Linked DNA regions of Homo sapiens: all the other regions are linked to region 4. The links are contacts of gene promoters, found by promoter capture Hi-C in blood cells and fetal thymus (Javierre and others, 2016). All regions are on one chromosome and are shown on one strand. Each heading gives the region's core, a stretch centred on a gene start or on the middle of the fragment in contact. The rest is flanking DNA. Distances are from core to core; before and after follow the strand shown. Region 1 has its middle 520 kb from the start of PARAIL. Region 2 has its middle 21 kb from the start of TMEM64. Region 3 overlaps LOC124901975 (a long non-coding RNA gene). Region 4 holds the start of OSGIN2 (oxidative stress induced growth inhibitor family member 2). Region 5 has its middle 31 kb from the start of LINC01030. Region 6 overlaps LINC01030 (long intergenic non-protein coding RNA 1030).

What was found. The method cuts DNA at HindIII sites, captures the fragments that hold promoters and counts their contacts. A CHiCAGO score of 5 or more calls a contact.
Region 1: a fragment that was not itself captured here is called in contact with the fragment with the promoter of OSGIN2 in region 4 in 1 of 17 cell types (naive CD4 T cells); the score reaches 6.7 in naive CD4 T cells.
Region 2: a contact is called between a fragment that was not itself captured here and the fragment with the promoter of OSGIN2 in region 4, in 4 of 17 cell types (total B cells, non-activated CD4 T cells, total CD8 T cells and 1 more). The highest score is 6.0, in total B cells.
Region 3: a fragment that was not itself captured here is called in contact with the fragment with the promoter of OSGIN2 in region 4 in 3 of 17 cell types (naive CD8 T cells, erythroblasts and total CD8 T cells); the score reaches 7.2 in naive CD8 T cells.
Region 5: a contact is called between a fragment that was not itself captured here and the fragment with the promoter of OSGIN2 in region 4, in 10 of 17 cell types (non-activated CD4 T cells, total CD4 T cells, activated CD4 T cells and 7 more). The highest score is 12.3, in non-activated CD4 T cells.
Region 6: a contact is called between a fragment that was not itself captured here and the fragment with the promoter of OSGIN2 in region 4, in 4 of 17 cell types (activated CD4 T cells, non-activated CD4 T cells, naive CD4 T cells and 1 more). The highest score is 7.4, in activated CD4 T cells.

The regions. Positions count from the first base shown.
Region 1 is chr8:89,238,847-89,241,586 of GRCh38, forward strand. No RefSeq gene overlaps it. Among named protein-coding and RNA genes, the nearest start is that of PARAIL, 520 kb to the right of the region's middle. The HindIII fragment of the contact is 4,416 bases long and covers 1-2,740 here.
Region 2 is chr8:90,665,308-90,668,007 of GRCh38, forward strand. No RefSeq gene overlaps it. Among named protein-coding and RNA genes, the nearest start is that of TMEM64, 21 kb to the left of the region's middle. RefSeq lists an enhancer at 1,100-1,600. The HindIII fragment of the contact is 3,241 bases long and covers 1-2,700 here.
Region 3 is chr8:90,470,909-90,473,608 of GRCh38, forward strand. The region is part of intron 3 of LOC124901975 (a long non-coding RNA gene); the gene reads right to left. Among named protein-coding and RNA genes, the nearest start is that of LINC01030, 130 kb to the right of the region's middle. The HindIII fragment of the contact is 1,329 bases long and covers 782-2,110 here.
Region 4 is chr8:89,901,318-89,904,017 of GRCh38, forward strand. OSGIN2 (oxidative stress induced growth inhibitor family member 2) reads left to right here and starts at 1,253. Exons shown (of 6, transcript NM_001126111.3): 1 at 1,253-1,520. The coding sequence starts at 1,477. LOC124901974 (a long non-coding RNA gene) reads right to left here and starts at 1,089. Exons shown (of 2, transcript XR_007061001.1): 1 at 702-1,089. RefSeq lists an enhancer at 1-663 and silencers at 957-1,255, 1,005-1,344, 1,375-1,824. The HindIII fragment of the contact is 4,461 bases long and covers 1-2,700 here.
Region 5 is chr8:90,573,779-90,576,478 of GRCh38, forward strand. No RefSeq gene overlaps it. Among named protein-coding and RNA genes, the nearest start is that of LINC01030, 31 kb to the right of the region's middle. The HindIII fragment of the contact is 7,285 bases long and covers 1-2,700 here.
Region 6 is chr8:90,592,521-90,595,220 of GRCh38, forward strand. It overlaps LINC01030 (long intergenic non-protein coding RNA 1030), which reads right to left. Exons shown (of 3, transcript NR_104062.1): 2 at 1,312-1,451; 3 at 255-583. Among named protein-coding and RNA genes, the nearest start is that of LINC01030, 12 kb to the right of the region's middle. The HindIII fragment of the contact is 1,209 bases long and covers 718-1,926 here.

The DNA.
Region 1 (2,740 bases), core at 234-2,733, 660 kb before region 4:
ATTAGGCAATCTTCCTAACTCTGCTTCTACAAGAGTTTCCTTATCACTTACTGAATATCCATTGTGTCTTTTTTCCCTCAATCACTTGGGAGGAACCATCTATCATTCTGTCCTGAGAGATCCTTCTAGGTCTGGTTGGACCTTTATATGGTAATTAATTAAGATTTAGATTCCCAGTTAGGAAGCCCGCTGGGTTAAGGGAATTATCAGTGGTTAATGTTAAATCATCTTTTTCTAACAGAATAGCCCCATACTTTAAGATTTTTGAGTGAGTAAGCTACCTTTTCCCTTTTTTTTTTTTTGACTTAGGATAGTTCTGAACTGGTGCAGTGTGCTCACAATGAGGTTTCCTCTAAAAGTTATTTTTCTACTTTCTTCTGTTAGCAAAGCAGTTGTCGCTACAGATTGAATGTACTTGGGCCATCCACGGGTTACTGGGTTAAGGATTTTTGATTAGGAAGGCTATGGGTTATCAGTGGCCTCAGTGCTCTCAGGTTATGCCCTTGTTCACACTGACAACAAGGTGGTATTGGAGTGTTATAGGGTCATGGAGAAGACCTTCAATTATCAATTATAGGTTTTAAATTTACCCTGGCTTTTAAAGGAATAGAGTACACTGTTTGTTTTCCCTAATACTTCTATCTCTGTCTTTCTCTCTTTCTTTCTCCTTTGACTTTCTGTCTCTCTCTTTCTCTCTCTCTGACTCCCTCTTTGTCTCTCTGTCTCTTCTTCTCTCTTTCTGCCTCTCTCTCTCTTTGACTCCCTCTTTGTCTCTCTGTCTCTTTCTGTCTCTCTCTTTCTCTCTCTCTCTTTCCTCTCTCTCTGCCAGCCACATGTGCTGCTGTTCTCCCCTCTCCTTCCCCTTCCCCTTCCCCTAGGGGAGGGACCAGTGGGAGTGGAGCTATCCTTTCCTCCCCTGAGAAGAAAGGAAAGAGGGGGTTTGTGTGAGGTTCGACCTTTGAAATTAGTGGAAGGCTCAACCCCTCACACCAGGGATGTCTTGCCTTGTCTGTCCCAGAAGGCTCAAACTCTCACACCAGGGGGTGTCTTGCCTTGCTGCCCTGGAAGGCTGACCTGTTTCTTCCTTTTCCCCCTCTGAAGGTCCCTTGCACACTTCCCACTCATGTCGTCCTCTCTGGCTGCTCCCTCAAGGGAGAATTAGGCCCCTCTTAGTGTTGGTGTGCCAGTATAAATCCCATGGCAGGATCCACCCTAAGCCATATGAGGTAGCTATGGAACCGCAGAGAGGACCCACTCACTCTGTCCAGCAGTAGGACTTGTCACCATCCACAAGAACAACACCGCAAGCAGGGTTGTTTGTGGTCACTCATGCACACACACATTTAGCCCTCTAGAATTTGACCACCAGGGAAGTACTTTACTGGTTCCTGCCCCTTCTCCTTCCTTGGTCGGTCCACAGAGTCGTTGCCGCAGAATGTGAAGATCCTTTAAGCTAGGTTGCTGGCCAGTTTTTTTTTTATTTTTTATTTTTTTCTGCATTGCTGAGAGCTGGGGTTATTCCTCCCACTGTGTGGGTCTTGATTTGACTATAGAAGGAAGTGAAGGAAGATAAGGAGGACCCAGATGAAGAAGGAACCATTAAAGAAATTTGAGCAAGGAAATGAGGTTTGCACCTTAGTTTGATAGCATGTGGAAGGGCAGGCTTAGAGAGACAAGCCTGGAGCCAGGAAGAACAGCAAAGAAGCACCTGCTCAGGGGAAAGAGTTATGGATACTTGAACTAGGGGCAGCAGTGTTGATGGAAAGGAACAAAGAAACTGGAAATTTAAGAATTTAGAATTGGTAAGGCTTGTATCTGATTAGATGGTGTGGAGCCAGGGAGTGTAAAAAAGCTAAAACAAACTGCTGGGTTTTTGGTTTGAAAATTTGGTAAGTGATAGTAGAATTCACCGAGCTATTCCAAGTAGACCTTTCACTATCTCACTTTGTTGGCTAGTCCCACTCAGCAGTCCTAAGCAGATGTAGTTGCTTCTCACTCAACATATTTTACTTATAAATATATACATATACTTCTTATAAGGTCCTGGTGCCCCTTGAAGGCATCGAGATATTGCACAGGAATACATTAATAGAATACAGCTAACAGATCTATTTTGGAGCAAAAACCAATGAAGTTCAGTCACTATATCTACCTTATAATTTCACTTTGCATATAGTGCCCTTCTTGAACATTAGACTTAACTGTCATGGGACATTTGAATCAACTATATCAAAAATTGAGGGTAATATATATTTATTAAGGACTTATATAAACAGCTAGGATTACAGAGGACAATTAGCCTTATGAGGACATGCCTAAGAGTAAGACAAACAAGGTTCCCCTCTGTATTAAATAACTTCCAGGGCCCTACAATGCCTTATTATATTATATAAATGTAATTTACACTTTTAAGATCACAGTAACCTGAAAGTCAAAATAGGGTCAAAACTGAAACTAATATTTCTCCAGTTGAATGCTTCCCTGAACTAGAAGAATCTCAGCTTCACTCAAATTCCTCCCAAATAGTTTTGAGAGTCTCCAGATGTCTCACATCTACTTTACATACAAGTTCCCTCAGATCTCCTTCTCTCATGATCCCATTTCAGCTCTCTGTGGTGAATCTGATACCCCACTACTGATGCCAGGATCTACAATGGTTAAGGTTCCACTGCCTGACAAACATGTTAGTGATACTGGTGCTTGCTGTTGTCTGCATTGAGGCTTCTGATATCTGTTACTG
Region 2 (2,700 bases), core at 164-2,663, 760 kb after region 4:
ATGTTTTCTTCTTCTTTCTTTATGTTATTGTTTTTTTCCTTCTTTCCATTTCCCTGCTTCCTTAGGGGATGTGGCTGCAGAGAATTTTGGCTAGGGCCTCCTGGCCTTGCATTTATAGCCCTATGCACTTCTGTCAGCAGGTTTTTTACTGGGTTATGCAGTTCCACTCCACCCTTCCTGTGCGGAGATCTGCATGCAGAGGGACCCTCTCTGCTTTATGCCAGGCAGATCTGCAGGCACTTGGAACACCAGTTCACCTTGTTCAGTTGATATTACCCAGATGTTGCTTATAGGTAAGAGCTGGCTGTGGCCAATGCAGCTGGGTATGTACTTGATCCTTGTTTACTGGAAGAAGATATCTGTTGCCTCTGACAATGCACTGATTTATGGGGTGCACAGTGGTCTGAGCTCCCTGCTCAGCCCTGGGTGGTGGAGGGGCAAGATGAGTAGAGTTGGACTGGGAAGGTCCACCTGCAGATCCTCCAATGGCAGGCATAAGTACCACTACTGAGGGAGCATCTAGTGAGTGGCCACCAAGTGCCCAAAGGTATGCCTAGGTGTGGAGCTGAGAAACCTCTTCAGCCCCAGTCCTCTGCATGGGAATGAGGATAGTGGGTACTCTAGGTTCCTGGAGATCTGCCTAGGTATGAGGTGGAGAGGGCCCCTCTGCACCCAGATCTCTGCACAGGAAAGGTGGATCAGCTCAGGCTGCTGAATCAGGTGAGCTGTTCCAAATACTTGAAGATCTGCCTGGGTATGAAGCAGAGAGGGTCCCTCTGCACCCGGATCTTTGCACAGGAAGGGTGGGGTGGCTCAGGTTGTCAATCCAGGTGAGGAGATACTTTGAATGCCTGGAGATCTGCTGGGCATGGAGCGGAGACGGCCCGACTACACCACAATCTATATATAGGAAAGGTGGGGCAGCTCAGGCTGCTGATCCAGGCGAGGGGTGCTCTGAATACCTGGAGAGACCTGCCTGTGTATGGAGCAGAGAGGGACCTGCTACACCATGTTTATGTCCCATGCTACACCATGTCCATGTCCATGAAGGATCAGGCAGCTCAGGCTGCTGGTCCAGGCAGGTGGGTGCTCCGAGTGCCTGGATTTCTGCCTAGGGGTGGAACAGAGAAGACCTTGCTGCACCATGATCTCTGGGGAGCAGGCTGGGGCACCCAGCAAGGACACATGCAGACTGATTCCAGGTCACCAAGCTGGCCCTAGCTGCAAGTCTTGCCACCCAGGAGAAACTACAGCTGTAGCAGCTCTCTCCTGCCCCAGCCTTGTGATAGGAGAGAGCACAATTCCAGTGCCTACTGCTGAGGTACTTCCCAAATTGTGGCTATGTAATTCCCTACCCCACTCCAGGGCAGGTGCTCCAATCTCTTGGCAGAGACTAAAATGCTTCCACAGCCAGGCTGCTAGGTTGACAAAGAATGGCTGACTGTGTATGCATCTGGATTTAAAATGGCATCCTGCTTTAGGTCCCGGGTCTGGGAAAATGCCTGCAGCTTTTTCTGGTGTCTTTCCCTCACAGTGTCTCCAAGCCTCTCCCCAGTTTATTCAGAGCTTGGGAGAAACAAAGTGCTTTCCCTTGGCCTGGGTTGCTTGGATCCCCAGTGGAAAGGTAAGTCACAGAGGAAGGTTTTCTGCCTCTTTCACATACTGGGGCTTCACACACTTTTAGTAGCCAGATACTGTCACAGGAGCTGTTTGCCCACATTATCCTCCCTGGGATCTGGGGTGTCCTTCACAATTCCAGTGGATTCCCATTTTCCTTCCTGAATTAAAGCTCACAAAATTGATCTTTAGGCACTATCTTGTTATTTCCCAGTTGCTGAGGCATGCTAAAAGCCTCTAATCTTGGAGGGCAAAAACTCCTTTCTAACTTTCTATAATAAAATCTGATAGATATTTACGTTTGTTTATTTGCAATTTAAAGTGTCAGCTTTATTCTACAAATGTAAATAGGTGGAAGGAGATAGCTGTGGGGTCTCTAATGCCTGTCCTCCAGGGAAGACAGCTGGGTTCACAGTTGTCTTCCCCAGGATCAGTTAGAGAAGCTGGAGAATCCCATTAATCTCTTTTAAGGAATCCCTACGTATGTAGGGATACCTTTGTATGGCAAAGGTAGTGTTGAAGAGTCTTTTTGTGACTTACCAATTCATGAGGCACATAAGCACCAAGGAGCCAGCATTGTACATATTTTACTTAATCCAAATTCATTGTAAATGAGAAGTATAAAATGATATTTAGAAACTATTGTCCAATGGAAGAGAAAAATCAAATGGGATCACTGACATACTCAATTTTAGCTTAAGTTAAAAAGAAAAGGTGATAAAATTATATTTTTGTTTAAGTACCTAGGTATCTACTATGATTTTAGAATGCCACATGGTGGTTATCAATTCATTAGACAGAGGCTTGAAATGTATTTGTATACATATGTAGATGCATATAATTTTAATGAATTATCTTTTTGCCATTAAATTCTATGTATAGCTTATCTCAGCAGTATTGGTTTTTGGTAATATATTGTTTGATAAATCTTTGGAAAAGTTATCATGAAATCCATTGTTGTTCTATTCAAGCAGCCAGAAAGCACTTTATTTTAAGCATGATTCAGGTGGTAGAAAGAATAAAATCAGTTTTGTGTTGGTGTTGCTGCTTTTTCACTCTGAAAAAGATTTTTGTTGCGTTAAA
Region 3 (2,700 bases), core at 196-2,695, 570 kb after region 4:
CTTTTATGCTTCTCCAATCTGTATTAGTAATAGACTGCTTCTGAACTCAAATTAATAAAAAGTCCTTGCTCAAGCAAATTTTTAATTATCACTAAGCTTATTAGTTTGTACTTTTCCTGAGGAAGACAGACCACTGTTTTGACTTACAGACCATAATGTCCTAGGTCTTGCAAACTAAATAAGGATTCTAATTTTATCATAAAATATTGACTCAAATTGACTGGGAGATATTATATATCACTTATAGAAACCTATGAATTAGCTATTTCAATTTAACAAAAATATTTCTTGTCAATCATTGATAAAAGAATCAATATAACTGTGGCAATATTTTTTAGATCTCAGTTCTCTTATTTTCTCATTGAGCAGAGATCCTCAGAGGCTATTTTTCTAAGACAGAGACATGGGAGTGTGGAGGCCTACAACACCACAGGGATGATTCAGTGCTCAGGAGAGCACGATCCACAGAGGATAGACAGTATGTGTTGCTTTTGGTCATAATCTGAGTAAAGAGGTTCAATCATCGTTGTCTTTGGCCAGGAGAGCATATGCGTTTCTACTCACTTATTCCATAAGGAAAGATCAAGGTCAAGGACAAGGACATTTTATTTAACTCCAGTTTTGGGAACAGTGCTTTCATTCTGATGAGCAAGTCAATCAGTTAAGTTCAGAGTGCATGTAGGGTATCCTGTGCTCTATTTCTTTAGATTTTCTCTTTTATATGTAGCTGGTGACAAGGTGCAGTGCTCTTCACACTTGTTTGCAAAAGGAGTGAACCAAAAGCTTCTCTTCCCAGGATGTGTGTATGGTGCTCCTGTGCGCATACACACACACACACACACACACATCAAATGTGAGGTGCAAAGAGTAGAGATTTGGGGAGCAGGTGAGAAGAGGAAAAGAGGGCTCTGTTCCTCCTTTGTTTTAGGTTCCTTAAATAGAACTCTAGTCTATGCACAAAAAGCCCTTTTCAAGGTCCTTTTCAAGGTCTCTTCTCACATCTCCTGGGACCCGGAGGAGCTTATGTGTCCTGAGGCTGACAAAACATCAGTTTCATCTCTCTGGAATCTTGTATTCCACACTTCCTGTGATTCACTTTATTCTACAATGATGTAGTCAACTTTACAGTGCCATACCTCACAGTGGAAACTCCTTGGTTAACAGCTCTCTTCCCTATGACACTGTAAGTGCCATAAATGAGGAGCCATGTCTGTTTTGTCCTATGAGGGACCCTCCTGCACACAACACAGTGACTTACAGGTAGCAGATACCCGGTGTAATATTCATTGAATTAATAAGAGTTTAAATAAAAGATGCAGGATTTAAACTTCAAACTTCTCATTCTTTCACTTCCAACAGTCTGCCTATAGCATATAAGCCCTTTGGATCCCTCTGAAATGTCACTTCTTCACATGGACTTTTCCTGACCTCCCTATCTACAGTAGCTGTCTCTCCTACCTTCCACTGCCACCCATCATTCTGTACCTCAGCATCCTGTCTTCTTTCCTTCGTGACACTTATCAACTCGTTTTCTCATCCACCCTCCCTCCCTTCCTTTCTCCCATCCTTCCTTTCTCCCAACTCCTTCCTTCCTTCCTTCTTTCCTTCCCTCCTTCCTTCCTTCTTTCCTTCCCTCCGTCCCTCCCTCCCTTCCTTCCTTCTCTCTCTTTCCTTTTGCGATTTATCTCATCCACTCCTACTGTGGAAGCACCATCAGCATGAGGGAAGCGGCTTATTCCCTCCTGTTCTTGATAGCGCACCCATCATCTAACTCAATGCAGAAGCACAATTAGAATAATACTCCTAGTGCTTACTTTTAGGTTAAAATACTGCGATGAGAATGCAACATTTCTGGAAGCAAAAGATACGTCTGATTTTGGAAAATGCATGGTTCTTAGCCCCAGTGGAAAACAAATACATCACTCTTGCCCATAGATTAGGGCAGTTGTGAGATACGATCTCAACAATATCTCACTCTGTCTTTCCCTTTTCCTGGTCAGTCTGAAATATACTAGCTAAAGGTAGCCATCTATCTGCCTTCAGGAAGAATGCAGTTATGTGAAACCATATGCTATTAAAGCACAAATAACTTTCTCCTACATGATTCACAAGCTTGGTAATCTTATATAAAAATAATGTAAATCACCCTAGTGCTAATGAAAGAGTAAATTATTAAGTATTATAGGTGTCAGTATGCCTAAGTGGGTTCATTTTATTTTCTGGAACACCAAACATTATTTCTTTCTCTCCAACTGAGAATTTATATGCCTCAGAGTAGAAATTACTATTTTAGGAGCTCTCAGAGGATGAGCATTTGTTTACCAAATACACAACCACTCTCTTGCACATCCAACTAACATTGAATTGGGTTGTCTCTTTTTCTCCTTTTTGACATGACTTGACACATTAGAATGTGACAAAAGAATTTATATTTGGCAGAAATTCTTGCTCCATATTTAATTACCCTGTCCATACTAATGCCACATTTGAATAAACAACCAATAGCCCAAAACCCTGGAGAAGATTTTAACATAATGTATGAAGATTCTGTCAAGTCCACCTTTGAAGTTGTCTCCTCTAATTATTAGAAACTTACCACTGGTTTCAGTATAATCACTATGGGAGTTAGAATGTATTACACAGCAATTTCAGTTCATGGTCAGTAGTCATGGCAACACAGGAGGATAAATCTTAAAATAA
Region 4 (2,700 bases), core at 3-2,502:
GGTACTTTAAAATGCTGTTATGTATGTTAACGGAAAAGTAACTACATGCTTCATTTTCAGAACCAACATTCAAATGAAATGAACGTGTCAAATCGACAAAAGCTCAAAAAAGAGAAAAACATATAATACTTAAAAGTGGTTAATATACTCTTAGATTGCATAACTCTGGGGCAGTCTGAGTCCTATGATTTTCTTTTAAGACCCCAAGACTCTAAAATACCTGCTCATCACAAGTTTGTTCAGTGACAACATTCAGTAAAACTTAACATTTGTTTTACAAAATTATGTTGAAAGATATAAACATAAACGTATATTTGAAGCACAAAAATAATTACGGCTTTTTTTGGAAGCGGAGTTAGACATTTCCGTAGAAAAGTAGATGCAATCAATCTCTCCTGATTTTTGTCCTCCCCACCTTTAATTTTTGACAAACCGAATAACGACACTCACTATTGAGTACTTTTCTAACTCCCTATTGCATCACAAACGCCCGCAGGGGCTTAAAAAGCAGCAGGGGTTCCTGCCCTTCCCCACACTGGCCGGTGTGGTCTGGGGCGGGCCTGATGAGCACCTGGATTTTCACCCGGCGTGCTGGTAATTCCTACACTTGTGGGTGTTTGAGAGACATGAAGAGGGGAGGATGACCTCTTCCCGGAAGCGGGACTTCCATAAAAGAAGCGTGGTGGGCGGGTCCCGGGCACCTGTGGTTTGGTGAGTCCTCCAGGTAACTGTGATGCGGGGGTCAGCGGGAGAGGCACCCGGAAGCTCCCGGCGTCTGCACCCCGGCAGCGCGAGGAAATGCCCAAAGGTGGGTTCTCAGGCGTGGGAAGCTCGACCCTTCCCGGGGTCCTCGGCGAAGTGGCCGAGGCCGCGCCTTACGCAGGGAACTCCGCCGGGCCATCTGGGTGGCCCGAGTTCGCAGCAGCTTCTCTTCCGCTCGTCCCTCGGCCCTCTCGACGCGCACCCACCGGCCTCACCAAGTCGCACGCAGAGGGGCGGCGGGGCGCTGACCGAGGTCTAGGTCTCGATTGCCGCCGGTCGAGCCGCGCAGTTTGCCTGCAGACCTCGGTCCCCTGCCCGCGCAGCCTCGGCTCCATCAGGCCCGGCCCCTCGCCCGGGCCGTGGCTCCACCAATCGCAGACTTCGCCCGCCGCAGCCGCACCTGCGAGGAGGGGCCCGCGCGCCGCTGCAGCCGCCGTCGCAGCGTCCCCGCCCCGCTCCGCCCCTATCGCGGCGCCCCGAGATCACCCGCCTCCGGCGCCTGGCTCCCTGCAGGCGAGGAGCGGAAGCCGCTATCTGGAGGCGGACTCCGGCGCCACAGAGCCGGGGCAGCCGCGGCAACGGCGAGGCGCGAGGCAGGGGCGCCCGGCAGACCCCGCGACCCCGAGCCAGCGGGCGCCCCGAGCGGGCAGCCTCGCCGGGGGAGGCGGAGGCGGCCACGGCGGCCGCGCTCGGGCGCCCCTCGCGCAGCGCTCCATGCCCGTGTGGTGCTGCCGCTGCTCCCTGGCCGGTCATTTCAGGTGACTTCCTCGCCGGGGATGGGAGGGGAGCAGGCGGGGATGCCGCGCTCTCGAGCTTTTTGGCCTGGCCCGGGCCGGGACCGGGGTGGAGGGCGAGCGCCTGGACCGCAGCGTCCTCCCGCCTCGGCCGTCCTGCCTGGCGTGGGGGTGGGGTGGGGTGCGGTGTGGTGGGGTCCTTGCTCCGGGGAGCCCTGCGCTGTTCCCTTTTCTCGCTCTGGACCGCGCGGGTCACGGGACTGCGGGATCGGCTAGGCCGGACTGAGTCGGTTACGGCGAGCTGAGACTTCCCAGTAGTGCAAAGTTTTAGTGAAGGGGGTTCTACGAAGTGCCTGCCTCCCTAAAAAAAAATTATTTCTTAAAAAGTCTTCTAAATAATGTAATGAGTGGAAGGAAGGTAGGGAACTACATTTCAGTGTCATCTAATCACAAATAGATTCTGCCTTGTTAAGATGTTAGCCATGGTAAGACGTGTGTGTTGTAGAAATTTAAAGAATGAGGCGGTTTTACAATCACCTTATGGGGAAAGGTTTTAGGGGTGATAAAATATAATACATTTCTAAAATAAAAGTATGTTTTCTAGATCTAGCACATTTGGTCAACACCTCAGTCATTGGTGGAAAGACCAGACACTAGAAACTGATTTTAACCCTGGGGTGAAGAATGGTTAAGCATAGGGAATACTTTAGTACCTTGCTTTACATATACTGATGTTCCAGAATAATTCTATGTAAGACTTCTTCCCTGGTAAAATATGAAATTTTGATCAAGCCTTCCTAAATAGTGGGTTTCATACAATTTAGGTAACCCATGAACTTGGATGGAAAGAAAGGTATATCATTTCACTAAATTTTAAAAACTAATATTCAGTTAAAATATAAGCAACAAATCACAGTAGTATCTGTGACTGTCATCAGTAGAGATCATAAAATATGTTTATATCACATTGCAGTTAATATAGAAATACTGTTTATACTTATTCAAAATTATAGTAACACATCACTGAATTTATTGAATGCAACAGAGAAGCACATATATATATCGCGTTTACTTTTTATGACTGTTTTAATAGAATTAGTTTTCTTGTAAATCCTGTGTATATTTAAGAACAGTATTCAGAGAAGAGGTTAAGAAGCGTCATCCTATAGTAAAAGAGATGTAAGGCATAGAGAAAGTTTGGAAC
Region 5 (2,700 bases), core at 129-2,628, 670 kb after region 4:
CACCTCCTCCGCCTCCTCCTCCTCCACCACCTCCTCCTCCTCCTCTTTGTCATTGTCATCATCACATTAAATGTTATTCACTTAAAAATTATTTTTGAGTATAAAAGTCAAAATGCCTTTCCCATTAAAATTTTCCTTCTTCCTTTTAGATGGCAAATTGCTCAAGGGAGGCAACCTCTCTTTTTGAATGCCACAGATTAACAAAAGTTAAATAGTTGCTATTATAATCCAATCTCTGTCTCCAGTGTAAAGTTGGTGAAGTCTAAATTTAGAACAAATTGTTACATTAAAGGTCAATTCCACAGTGAGGACAAGGGATATATTGCTTTTTGCTTTAAAGTGGGGCATGAGCTGAAGAGGGATGGATTTAAGAGGCATCCTGCTGCCACAGTGCTTGGTGCTTTAAGGACACCAGGGCTGCAGGACCCAGTGAGGGTGGACCTCAAGAGGCTGAGTGATATGTCCCTTACGGCTGACTTTCAGTGACCCACTGCCTGTCAACCAACTGTTGCCTTCCCTAAAACAATCTGCCACTTGGACCTCTCCAAAGAATTGAGAAAATTGAAGGCTGCATGAATTCAACTTCTGAAAAAGCATTTCCACTCAGCCAAGGAGCGAGTGAACAGAGTTTGGGGAGATAACAGTAGTTGCTCACAATAAAACTGCCTTAATCAATAAAGGTAATTCTCATTTTCAAAAAAATAAACACATTATGTTCTTAACTTGGTTTAGTAAATATAAGCACAAGTTTAAATATTAAATTCCACTTATATCTGTGTTAACAGACTTAAAACAAACTCTGATATCTAATTTCCCAGCCATGCTATACTTCTGGTTTCTAAATTTCCTATCCTAAGCATACTGGAATTTGCCCAAACATGAGGAAGCTGTTTCCATTTTGCCCTGTGTTCCGAGTATCTCCCTCTTAGTGCCATCTTCACACTGCCCTATTCCCTACACACCCTCTTTCCATTTAATGATTGAAAAACAGAATAAGCAGATGTTCAGTTAGTCCACTGCTTGGAACATAGTTCACATATCGTGATATTTAATGAATGCTGCATCCTCCTAAAGAGAATATTTAACTTCAATAACTGCACAAATGGCATGCACATGTGTCTGTCCCTTCCTTCGAATCCATGAAAGGGAAAGTCATTCTGGTAAAATATCCAAACTGCCTGTAAAAACATCCTCAGACTTGCTGTGTAAATCTCTGATGGGAAGGACAAGAGAACCCTGGAGGCTTTATTGCCATTGTTGCTTAAATCATACTGCTACCATTCCCCTGAAATGTCTGTATGACGGTACGTTATGAATTCGGTGTTTATGTTCCCCAGGACATTTCTGCAATACTATTTTTGAATAGCAATAATTTTTGAGTTTTTACCAACTTGACTTCAAAATACCATCACGAATCATTCACGTCTTAGCCTTACTTACGTTTTTAGTATTTTCCATGAAAAGCTAGCTCATGTTGCCTTTAGCTAAATGATAATGATCACAAAAATTATTTTGATCAGAAAACTGATTCCCATGGGGTAAGGGCCTCCTGGTCCATCCAGACTCACACTGGTTAGGTTAGCCAATTCTGTATTAGGTTAACAATTAACTTGCCTACTCTGAAAATCAGTCACATTCCTCTGATCAGCCTCCACTGTTTGGATAAAATATATCAAAAAAAAATCTAGAAATATTGGTTCCAAGACAATGCACCAAGATTGCTCCTTGTTCTTAATAAAGAAATCTTCTGAGCTCACGAGAGACAAGGTCTTCTAATCAGTATTCCCTCTTCTTTCTGCCAGGCTTATCTCATGTCAAAAGGAGATATTTTGAAAGGATCATTCAATATATAGACCCAAGGGCCTCTCTGGGGTAGGGAAGAAGGGTGGGGCTAGCAGACACAGAGCTGCCATGTCTGTTTTTAATCTGCAGCTGCTACTGCTGATGAGTTGAACTTAGGAAGGGAATCCTGCCTAAGGGTGGAGCTGCCCTGACTGACTCCCATCTGCCTGGCACACAGCTCATGAATGCATTTTCCAGCACACCATCTGCATCTCTGAGCTCCCTAATATGTGAGAATTTCACTGTGATCTTCCAGCTCTACTGCACACATTATTTTAGCTCACATATAGTATCCTGAGTCCTCTAACTCCTACACTGGATCCTGCTTCTCTGGAAACACCAGATTCCAAACTGGACCAACCAGGGCTACTAAAAACTCCCTGTATATTTGACCCTACTAATTTAGAATTTCCATCTATCAGAAAGCAAATGGTTTCAAGACTGACTCACCAAGTAAACTAGGTAGCAGTTAAAGTTGATCCTGAGTTGTAGATAAGTCTCTTGAGGCCTTTCCAAAAATAAAAATGTAGCAGAATGTTGAAAATGTAGCTTGTGCTCAAGAAATACATATTAAATGCACAACAACAATGATTTTAAATCCCCAACAGAATAAAAAGGTCTCTTTTAATGTTCACCTGGAAAAGTCTTTTAAAGTAATGTAAGAGCCTGGGCACACACCGCAAAAAACTCAGTGCTGTGTAGCTGGGGTAACAAATTCTCATAGGCCTCCAAATCTTTGGTGCTGTGTGTATATATATATACACACACACATATATATACACAGTGTATATATATGCATATATGCACACTATATATAGTGTATATAGACATACATACACACTACATATATACACTATA
Region 6 (2,700 bases), core at 72-2,571, 690 kb after region 4:
ACTCCAGATCATTTTTGATCATGTATTTCATCAACAAATTGTTTTTGAGCTGTACCTGATACATACATCATAGTAATAGTACATAATTTCAAGTATAAATTACTATTATGCACATTATAAAAGATTTATGTATATTTTAAAATATATACAAAAATAGAAAATAAAAAACAATGAGAAAAGAAAAAAAAAAAAAAACAAAACCAGAAACTAATAGAGGAAATAGAACCCTCCCAAGAGGCAATCTTGTGGACCACTCTGGAAACCACATGAAATATTTTAATAAGTGATTCCTGATTTTTTTTTCATATAGACAAGTTCTACATATGGGATATTTTATTTCTGATTTGAAGAAATATAATATTATGCATGCAGCATTCCTAATTCTTAATTTAAAGGCACACCTTAACAGGTACTTAATCAACAGATTCTAACTATTTTCATTACAAAAAATATTCCAACCACAAGCATCACTGAGATCACCATTGACTCTTGAATGGATTCAGTGTATTATGTCACCACATCCTGGACAAGGAATTTCAAACATGTACAGTTGTATGGCCTTCTCGAAGCCTTATGTTTCTTACTGCAAGGAACAGAGAAGAATAGATAGATTTAATATTTAAAAAATAACACTAAAGGCCTCAATAAAAGAAAAATAAAGACGGAAAGAAGAAAAAAATGTGTAGTAAAAAGGACCATCATTTAAACCTCTCCATAAGCTTCCTAAATAAAATAAATAGTTCAGTATTATCTTTCCCTTATTGAGTAACTGCCTTTAAACATACCACTGAATATTCTGCTGTAGTGGCCAGACCATGGGTCAGGTCTGTCCGGTTTGGATCCAGCTCTGCCACTTACTGTGTGATGTTAGGCAAGTTACCTAACCCAAGTCTTTGATTCTTTATTTATAAAATGGGTTATAGCAGCACCTACACCTCCTAGGATTCCTGGGTGTATTACATTAAATAATATAATGTGAGGTGCTTAGCACGGTGTCTGGGCTACTGTAAGTACTCAATAAACCAGCATAATTGTTCAAAGAAGTAAAAGGATATGTGAAACAAAACATTGCCTTTTCTGATAAAGAGCCCAGGGTTAATGTAAATTATAAACACTTTTTTTTGCTCTTGTTCTTACAGAATTTTTGTCTCCCTTGGTGATCACGGTGTCCTTTCAGATGTCTGTCTGAATCAATGCCATTTTTTTTTAGATTAAAAGGTACAGATAGGAGGCTGTCAAACTTGCTCTGCAAATGAGCAGAGTCCTGAGGGCCAAGGGGATGGATGGATAAGATAAAAGTAATTAAATTACCAAATGTAGTGGTTTCTAGCGGCAGTCTTTGCTTATGCCAGGAAGAGTGCCCAAGGTTGAAAAAGCCTTGAGAGTGGACGGGTAAATGAGGTGGAAACTTCAGTTCTCAAATATGGGAGCCAGCAGCTACAATATAGTTACTAGGAGACAAAAGAGAAACAGTTTCCAGGAGGAAGAAGGCTGGAAAAGTACAACGTACATGTTCACGTATTTCTTTCCTAAATCTAGTATTTACCTGTACACATACTGTGCTACTCATTCTCACAAGCTATCTTTCTCCTCCTGTCTTACAGATGAATCAACCAAGGTTTGGAGACAATAAACTGCTCACCCAAGATTATATAAAGAAAGCAAAAATTGCAGTTAGAAGTGGCATTTGTTGGTTGTAGTAACAGTTATCATAATCTGTGCCATGGATATCAGAAAGGCCAAGTGTGAAGGAGCTGAACCAACTAGAAACTGATTTTTAAGTTGTAGGTTTAAAACATACCAGTTGATGGACAGAGGCCTATTTGCATTGATAAGTCACTGGAGTAAAGAGGTAAAAATCTTAAGAGATTTCACGTGGCTGATTCATTGCTACAGAAACAACTTCCTTGGTATCTGATGGTTATAAGCTTAATGACTCTTGCTTTGTTTCCATGAATGAATTGGCATCATTATGGAGAACTGAGGGAATGCAGACTTTCAAGGCAGGGAAACATTACATTTAGCTCATATACATGATAAAAAGAAACAGATTGTGTAATTACTACACATCTGTGAGCACATTTTTTTTTTTAAATAGAACTTTTCCTGAATAATTAATCACATCTCTTGATTTAGGCCTTGGTAGTTTTTAATAAATTTTAAATATTTATACCGTGTTGCCAACTATTTAATTGCTTACCAACTGCACAATATACAGTCACTTTGGGAGAGGAATCAAGAGGCTGATAAATAAAAGGGTGCTATCCACAGGCTGAAATTTTTTATCCTCACCTGCAATTAAAGTACCCAAGAATTTTTCAAAGCTACCTTTCAGAAGTGTTTTCAGATTTTATACAGTCTTCTTAAAAAAAAGTTCTGCTCCTGTAATGTTGTTGAAATATATTTGGACACCTAAAGTGTGTGCCATAAAGACTGCTTTTCTCCTAGGAACATTATGCCTGTAATTAGTAGATATTATCACGAAGATGATAGAATTTAAGTTTATGGATTGGGACCCATGCAGTACAGAAAGCCCGGCAACCAATGACTAACCAGTCCGGATTCACTCAGCCTTTGCTACCAAAAAAAATCTTAGTAAGCTAGACACAAAAGGACAAATATTGTATGATTCCATTTACATGAGGTACTTAGAATAGGCAAATTCACAGAGACAGAGTTAGTATAGTGATTACCAGGGTA